Linked DNA regions of Homo sapiens: region 1 is linked to region 2. Evidence: promoter capture Hi-C in human tissues and cell types (Jung and others, 2019). All regions are on one chromosome and are shown on one strand. The core of a region is centred on a gene start or on the middle of the fragment in contact, and the rest is flanking DNA. Distances in the headings are between cores, read along the strand shown.

Region 1 (4,626 bases), core at 1,233-3,732, 370 kb before region 2:
TGAAGCTGGAGCGCACCGTGTCGTAGGCGCGGCCCGGCGGGGGCGGCGGCGAGAAGGCCGGGGGCGGCCCCGAGTCGAAGTAGTAGGGCGCGGGCGGGGGAGGCGGCGCGGTCTGCGGCGGGGGCGGGATGCCGCGACCCTCGCGCACCGGGTCTTGCATCGAGGTGCTCCGCGGGAAGCGCCCTTCCAGCAGGGACGCCAGCTTCTCGTCCTCCCCTGCGGACGGAAGGGCCGGTGAGACCAGCCAGGGCGCTGGGCGGGGGGTGGTGCTGCCTTCGGAGAGGTTCCTGGGGACCCCGGCAACCCCCTCCCACAGAGGCCAGCCTTGACCCGACTCCACCCCGGGGAAGCCACCGTCCGGACACAATGGACGCCCGCGGCAGAACCCGGCGCGAGGAGCTAGAATGCTCGGGAAGATGGGGTTGGGACCCGTGGTGGGCGGGGAATGGAGGGCAGGGGAGAAACAGGGAGCCCAGAGCCCGGGCTCCGAGCAAGACCCTGGTCTGGGCTGGTCCCTGGATGCCCAAGCTCTGTGCCCCAGGCCCAGGGCTGCACGGGGAGGGCTCTTGTGAAGAGGACAGGAGAGAGGTGTGCGTTCAGTTACAGGATGGAGGAGGGCCCCACCGGGGACCCCTGAGAAAGGACACAAACTCTGACGGCCTGGGTTGGGGCCAAGACCTGCCCAAACCCAGGGTCATCAAGCAGGCCCTGAGAAGATATCCCAGAAAGGCAGGGACAGCCCCGCAAGACATGGGGACAGAACTGCTGAGGGGCTTGGAGGGGCCAGTACAGGGCTCCCCACCCCAGAATCAACAAGGCCGACGCAGAAGTACCAGCCCTGGAGGCAACCAGAGGTGAGAGGAAGATAGTCGGAAATGAGCAGGAGTGACACACTGGCAGGGTGAGGGGCAGCAGGGCTGTGGCCACTGGAGCCAGGCCTCCAGCAGAGAAAGACCTAATGCCCACCCAGGTAAGGAGGTGCCCTGTGGAGGAAGCCTTGAGAGGCTCCTCCCAGAGACCCGCATGGGTGAGTGGGTGAAGGGAAGAACGGACGGATCAATCAAAATGGAACTGCAGGCTGAGCACCCAGCATGTTTCATTTTAACCCCTACTGGCAGCGTGACCCCAGGCCAGGCCCTGAGCCCCTTTGAGCTTCAGTAACCCCCCTCTGCATGCCTTGCTCAGACATCATTGTTAGGGTCCTGTGCAGGGGCTGGAGTGCTCAGGGCCCTCATGCTCCTGCTGTCCAGCAGAACCTGACACAACCTCCTGAACACCCCTGTGGACATCATGATGCGGACACACGTGCTGCAGGTGTGTTCAGTGAGGCTGCAGGGGGCGGACGGCCCCACACCCACACACCCAGGTCTCGTGGTGCTCCTGTTCCCAGCCTCACTCTGAGATTGGTCAACATTTTTATGAACTCGCTAAAATACAGACTGCCTGTTCCTGATCGCATCCTCCTCCAGCCACCGCAGTGCTAATGAGGCCTCCAGTACTACACTGCTTCTTGCTGGGCATAATATCTCTTTGTAGCCAAGGTACCAAGGGTGGGCTTTTGTGTACAGACCTAGGCTTGAATTTTAGATCTGCCAGGAACTTCAGAAGCCTCTAGGAACTTCAGTTTCCTCATGTCAAGAGGACAGCCTGCAACTATTGTGGGGCGATTTCACCTTTACAGTGCAGGGCTGAACTGCAGCAGTATCCTGGGAATGGGGGAAGGGGGCCGAGGTCATCATCATCGTGATTTTTAGGTCTGCCTTCCCCCCATCCCCAACCGCTGGACAGAGAAATTGTGCCCAGTTCGTCCTGGGTCTCCTGCTGCATTCCCTGCACTGTGTATGAACACGCAGTGAACACCCACAGCCTATGTGTTAGATGGAGCGACGCAGAATGAGCGCACCTTGAGGATGCAGAAGGCGGGAGTGACGTGCAAAGATGAAATAAGGGGAAACTTAATGCTAATAGCATGCCAAGTTCTGACTTAGGGTAAAGAAAAGTCACTTGCCTCAGCATGGAATGGGGAATCTGTTCTGATACCATCTGGGGCGGGGGTGGGACCCCTTGGGGGCAGAGGCAGACCCTCTTTGTCTGCCTAGGTCATAGCAGAGAGCATTTCTCGAGCACCCACTGTGTGCCAACCTCAAGAGGCAGCATCTACGTCTACTAACACTGGCAGCTGCTGAGCACTCCCAGCATGCCACGCGGTCTGTGAGTGCCATCTACCGGGGGAGACTCAGAGTGGTCCTTGGAGGTGGGTAATAGGTGGTCTCCATGTTTATGGATCAAAATCCTGATGTTTCAAGGGCTGCATCGTGTGCCCAGAGCAACAGAGCCAGGGCATGGGGCAGGGGCCTGGGGAGTCTGACAACCCAACCAATGTGCATGCTGGCAGCTGAGGCCCAGCAGGCCAAGAGGAGCCAAAAAGGAGCACCTGTCCACCCATCCATCAACCGAGTACAAGAGGGTGCCTGAGGGACCAGTGCAGAACTGGCAGTCCTAGGAGAGTGGCTCAAGGCCTGCAGGGCAGGTGCATGGACCTAGACCTGCAGGGTCGGGCCCAGGAACAGCAAGAGTCAGAAGACCCAGGTCAAGGGAGGCAGAGACAAATGTTTCCAGATGAAGCAGGAGAGCACTGGGGCCGATCTCCAGGGCCCTGAGGCAATGAGGAGTGCACAGAGGGTCAAGCTGGACGGATATGGGGTGATAGCAGCTCTGCGGAAAGCCTGATTTGGCCAGAGGGATGGACCAGAGGGCAGAGCCAGGGCAGGCAGTCATGAGAACAAAGCCATGGTCCAGCTGCAAGGTGATGAGACCTGTGCAGGGCAGGGCTGTGAGGCCACCCACCCCGACACATCAGGTGAGGCAGAGGATAAGAAAGAAACCATGGAAGACACTCAGTGTTTAGGCCAGGGAGAGCAGGGGAGAGCGCTTCTCAGCTCCAAAGTAGCTGCAGCCTCACCAGCCTTCTTCCCCACAATCCCACCTACAGAAATAACTCTTGGCAGTCTCTGAGGGACCAGGTCACACACCCATATGCCTTTTCCACACTGCTCTGTCAGTTCACCCCATTATCGCCCAGAAACTCCCATTTATCTTGCACATCTTAGCTCAAAAGTACCCCCACCCCGACACACACAGCCTTCTGTGACACCAGGTGTGCTTGGAGCCCCCCAGTGGGCTCCATTGGTCCGTGAGCCCTGGCACCCACAATGTGCCCGCTGAGCTCTCTGCACACGTCACATTCCCTAACCAAGCCCCAGACTTGGCCCAGGATCGGCCTTGTGTGAACACAAATTGGCAGGGTCCTGAGGCAGGTGAGGAATCCGAGTTTGGGCAGCTGTGTGATCTTGGGCAGGTCATTTACCCTCCTTGCTTCAGTTTTCTCATCTGTAAAATGGAGGTACTAGTGGTCTCAACCTCAATATGGTTATTCTAAGTATTAAATGCTCAGTGTCCAGCCCGTAGTAAGTGCTGAGAGGTTTACTCCTATGTGTAACAGATGGGAGGTGTGCTGGGGTTTGTATGGACAACGGACGGTCAAGTGGGCAGGTGTGTGGGTGGACAGATGCACAGGTGGGCAGGGGACGGGAGAGTGGATGTCTGGAGGGATGCACAGTGGGCAGGGCTTGTTACATGTCCCCATCTGGGTCAGGAAAGGAGACGGTGAGTGTGGAGTGTGATGGTGGCTGGGGAGTGGTGAGGCACAGAGGGGAAGGAGGCTGAAGACACAGCCTTGAAAAGGTCCCATATTTGGGAGGCTGGGGCGGCAGGGTTGAAATAGGTGCCATCTGAGAAAGGAGGGGAAAACCAGTAAGTGTTGTCCTAAAGCTTTGGGGAGGAGCGTTTCACGGAAGAAGGAGCAAAGAAACCAAATGCCAGCTGAGGTCAGCAGGAGTGCTGGCCATGCATCCATGGGGAGGAAGGCCCTGGAGGCCGCCGGTGACCCTGGTGGGAGCAGTTTCAATTTGGGTATGGAGAGAGGAAGTCTGCCGCAGGCTGAGGAGCCGGTGGGGGACGGGAGACAAGATGGACAGTAGAGGTGACTTTTTGGGGAAAACTGGCTGTGAAGGGGGGAGACAGCAATACATGGAGAAGTAGGGGAGAGGCAAGTTCAGGGGGTTTGAGGGTCAGAAACTTCACATGCACTTGGGCTGCAAGGGAGCAACCGCGATGGAGGCAGCTGAGCTGGGGACAGGGATGAGGCTGCCCATGGGAAGGATGAGAGGTGATGGGGAGGTGGGGGTGCCCAGTGGACAGGGAGTGGCAGCTGGGGACAGGGATGAGGCTGCCCATGGGAGGGATGAGAGGTGATGGGGAGGTGGGGGTGCCCAGTGGACAGGGAGTGGCAGCTGGGGACAGGGATGAGACTGCCCATGGGAGGGATGAGGCGATGGGGGGCGGTGCCCACTGGACAGGGAGTGTCGGCTGCCGGGGGAAAGCTCTGGGTTGGGGAAGGCCTAATCCCCACATGTCCATCAACGTATGAGATCCTTTAGCTGGGGCCAGGAAGAGACAGGACTGAGAGGGAAACTGGAAACCCCAGTTATGGGCAGAGAGAGGCAGTGTCCTTCAAACCCAAGTCCACCCTGCCGGCCCCAGCCCCGTTCCTCCCCACCCCATGCA
Region 2 (4,418 bases), core at 1,917-4,416:
GGAACTGACTGGAGGGGGCCCTGACTTGGGAGGAAACTGACTTGGGGGGCACTTACTGGAGGGGAACTGACTGGAGTGGGCACTGACTGGGGGCACTGATTTGGGGGGCACTGACTGGAGGGGGCACTGACGGGGGAACTGATTGCGGGGGGAACTGACTGGGGGGGCACTGACTGAGGGGAACTGACTGGGGGACACTGAAGGGGGCACTGACTGGGGGGAACTGACTAGGGGATGCACTGACTGGGGAGAACTTACTGGAGGGGCACTGACTGGAGGGGACAGTGACTGACTTGGGGGGGGCACTGACTGGGGGGCACTGACTGACTGGGGGAACTGACTGGAGGGGGAACTGACTGACTTGGGGGGCACTGACTGGGGGGCAACTGACTGGGGGAACTGACTGGAGGGGGCACTGACTGGGTGGGTCACTGACTGGAGGGTTCACTGACTGGGGGGAACTGACTAGAGGATGCACTGACTGGGGGGAACTGACTGGAGGGGGGCACTGACTGGGGGGGAACTGACTGGAGGGGGCACTGACTGGGTGGGTCACTGACTGGAGGGTTCACTGACTGGGGGGAACTGACTAGAGGATGCACTGACTGGGGGGAACTGACTGGAGGGGGGCACTGACTGGGGGGGAACTGACTGGAGGGGGCACTGACTTGGGGGGCACTGACTGGGGGGAAACTGACTGGAGGGGGCACTGACTGGGGGGGGGAACTGACCGGGGGGGGGGAACTGACTGGAGGGGGCACTGACTAGGGGGGCACTGATGGGGGGAACTGACTGGAGGGGGCACTGACTGGAGGGAAACTGACTGGGGGGAAACTGACTGGGGGGGAACTGACTGGAGGGGGCACTGACTGGGGGGAAACTGACTGGAGGGGGCACTGACTGGAGGGGGCACTGACTGGGGGGCACTGACTGGAGGGAAACTGACTGGGGGAAAACTGACTGGGGGGAACTGACTGGAGGGGGCACTGACTGGGGGGAAACTGACTGGAGGGGGCACTGACTGGAGGGGGCACTGACTGGGGGGCACTGACTGGAGGGAAACTGACTGGGGGGAAACTGACTGGGGGGAACTGACTGGAGGGGGCACTGACTGGGGGAACTGACTAGAGGGTGTACTGACTGGGGGGGGGAACTGACTGGAGGGGGCACTGACTGGGGGGGGAACTGACTGGAGGGGGCACTGACTGGGGGAAACTGACTGGAGGAGGCACTGACTGGGGGGGAACTGACTGGAGGGGGCACTGACTGGGGGAACTGACTGGAGGGGGCACTGACTTGGGGGGGAACTGACTGGAGGGGGCACTGACTGGGGGGAATTGACTGGAGGGGGCACTGACTGGGGGGCACTGACTGGGGGGAAACTGACTGGGGGGGCACTGACTGGGGGGAACTGACTGGAGGGGGCACTGACTGGGGGAAACTGACTGGAGGAGGCACTGACTGGGGGAAACTGACTGGAGGAGGCACTGACTGGGGGAAACTGACTGGAGGAGGCACTGACTGGGGGGAAACTGACTAGAGGGGGCACTGACTGGGGGGGAACTGACTAGAGGGGGCACTGACTGGGGGGGAACTGACTAGAGGGGGCACTGACTGGGGGGGAACTGACTAGAGGGGGCACTGACTGGGGGGGAACTGACTAGAGGGGGCACTGACTGGGGGGGGAACTGACTGGAGGGGGCACTGACTGGGGGAAACTGACTGGAGGAGGCACTGACTGGGGGAAACTGACTGGAGGAGGCACTGACTGGGGGGGAACTGACTGGAGGGGGCACTGACTAGGGGGAATTGACTGGAGGGGGCACTGACTGGGGGGCACTGACTGGGGGGAAACTGACTGGGGGGGCACTGACTGGGGGGAACTGACTGGAGGGGGCACTGACTGGGGGAAACTGACTGGAGGAGGCACTGACTGGGGGGAATTGACTGGAGGGGGCACTGACTGGGGGGAATTGACTGGAGGGGGCACTGACTGGGGGGCACTGACTGGGGGGAAACTGACTGGGGGGGCACTGACTGGGGGGGAACTGACTGGAGGGGGCACTGACTGGGGGAACTGACTGAAGGGGGCACTGACTGGGGGGGGAACTGACTGGAGGGGGCACTGACTGGGGGGAATTGACTGGAGGGGGCACTGACTGGGGGGCACTGACTGGGGGGCACTGACTGGGGGGAAACTGACTGGGGGGGCACTGACTGGGGGGAACTGACTGGAGGGGGCACTGACTGGGGGAAACTGACTGGAGGAGGCACTGACTGGGGGAAACTGACTGGAGGAGGCACTGACTGGGGGAAACTGACTGGAGGAGGCACTGACTGGGGGGAAACTGACTAGAGGGGGCACTGACTGGGGGGGAACTGACTAGAGGGGGCACTGACTGGGGGGGAACTGACTAGAGGGGGCACTGACTGGGGGGGGAACTGACTGGAGGGGGCACTGACTGGGGGAAACTGACTGGAGGAGGCACTGACTGGGGGAAACTGACTGGAGGAGGCACTGACTGGGGGGGAACTGACTGGAGGGGGCACTGACTGGGGGGAAACTGACTGGAGGGGGCACTGACTGGGGGGGAACTGACTGGAGGGGGCACTGACTGGGGGGCACTGACTGGGGGGAAACTGACTGGGGGGAAACTGACTGGGGGGGAACTGACTGGGGGGGAACTGACTGGAGGGGGCACTGACTGGGGGAACTGACTAGAGGGTGCACTAACTGGGGGGGAACTGACTGGAGGGGGCACTGACTGACTTGGGGGGGGCACTGACTCCGGGGGCACCGACTGGGGGGAACTGACTGGAGGGGGAACTGACTGACTGGGGGATAACTATCTGGAGGGGGCACTGACTGACTCGGGGAGAAGTGACTTGGGGGGCACTGGCAGACTGGGGGCCGGGTCTGAGCGGCGGGCGGCCGCACTCACCTGCCCTGCGGGCCGGGCGTCGCGGCAGCTCTTCGGAGGCCCGTGTGGAGGCCCGAGCGGAGGCCAGGGCGCTGGTGGAGGCAAAGCCCGGGCGGCCTCGGGCGGGCCGCACACACATGGGCCCGGCCGAGGGCGCAGCGCCTACGGACACCGGCACGGCCGGCCGGCGGCTCGAGACCGACTCGGGGCCGCGGGCGGCACTCCGATCGCTCCAAAATGGCGGCGGCGGCGCACGGGCACGCGCTCCGGGGGCGGGGTCTCCGCTTGGGGCGCGCACGCTCGCGGCCGGGGGCGGGGCCGCGCGGGTGGGCGGGGCCGGGACCTGGGCCGGCTCTCCGGGCCCCCTGGAGTGGGGCACTCGGTGAAACCCGCGTGGGAGCACGAGGGCTTGGGTGTGCTGACTGCTGCCTTGGAGTGGGTGGGGTAAGAGTGCGTCTTTCCCCTTTTACGTTTCCCTTTGAGGTATTGGCTAAAGTTTTGTGCAAGCATAGTTAATTTTGTTGTAGCCACAAAACAATCCTCGCGTGGCCCGACGCAGCATTTGAGAGACACACACCTGGGGCAGGGGTTTCCCCCGTGGCCCAGGAAAGGGCCTGTTCTCCCGGGCCTCCCTCCTGCCACAGGCCCCTCCCAGAGGCCGCGGGGCGTGGACGCCCCGAGCAGCAGGAGCGGGCTCAGCCCCGGGCGCCAGGCCTGGCCCCTCCCCGTCCCGCGTCCTGCCTGGACCCGGAGTGCCTGAGCCGCCTCCAGACAGTTTTCTCCAGGTGCGCTACGGGTTCTTGCACGGCGTTTTGCAAATTAAGTATGTGCCTATTTAACAAGTGCTGGAATTGTTTAATTCCATCAAAATAATTTCAAAAATGATTACTATTATTTCAGATGTTAGAGCGAGCCGTGGGTAAATGTTGGGAAAACATGGAGCACTTAAGGGATCTCTAAACGTTTTTTCCAGTTGTCAGTGTATTGCCCAGGATTCACCGATGCTCTCTGCGAAAGCGTATCTGGGCGGCTCAAATATTCGGTATTTCTCTTTTGCCAGCTGGCGCTGTTAGGCTTTGTCGGTAGAGGGCGCCAGAGACGTTGCAGGAGAAAAGGGCTTGGCCCTGCGGCTGGCGGCCCCGGGCTTCCCCGACGCCTGTCCCCTGCCCTGGTCAGCAGCACCCTCCTCGCCGGTTTTATAGCAGATGCCTCTGGCGAGCCTTTCCCCAGCAAAAGCTTTTCCCCTAGCATCCTAAGGGGCAGATTTCTGGCAGGTTCCGTTGAGGGAACTTCCAGGAAGTGGGGGTGAAAAAGCCTCAGCCTCACAACCTAGAGAAGAGACACCCTGCGTTCAGCAGGCTATGCCCTTCTCCTGCCCTCACCATGGTCTCCTTTGCAGGAGCGGGAGGTGCTGCTGAGTTGAGCTACGGAATGGGGACTGGGGCCAGGGGCACCAGATGCAGGAGATGCTCCTGCTGCCGTGAGCACGTGCAACTC

What was found. The method cuts DNA at HindIII sites, captures the fragments that hold promoters and counts their contacts. A contact is called where the count stands out against the background at its distance.
Region 1: a contact is called between a fragment that was not itself captured here and the fragment with the promoter of PPP6R2 in region 2, in 1 of the 25 tissues and cell types used here (dorsolateral prefrontal cortex).

The regions. Positions count from the first base shown.
Region 1 is chr22:50,715,774-50,720,399 of GRCh38, reverse strand. It overlaps SHANK3 (SH3 and multiple ankyrin repeat domains 3), which reads right to left. Exons shown (of 25, transcript NM_001372044.2): 24 at 1-216. Among named protein-coding and RNA genes, the nearest start is that of ACR, 20 kb to the left of the region's middle. The HindIII fragment of the contact is 5,276 bases long and covers 1-4,626 here.
Region 2 is chr22:50,342,075-50,346,492 of GRCh38, reverse strand. It overlaps PPP6R2 (protein phosphatase 6 regulatory subunit 2), which reads right to left and starts at 3,166. Exons shown (of 24, transcript NM_001242898.2): 1 at 2,943-3,166. RefSeq lists silencers at 2,906-2,985, 2,996-3,275, 3,546-3,715 and an enhancer at 3,812-4,418. The HindIII fragment of the contact is 17,181 bases long and covers 1-4,418 here.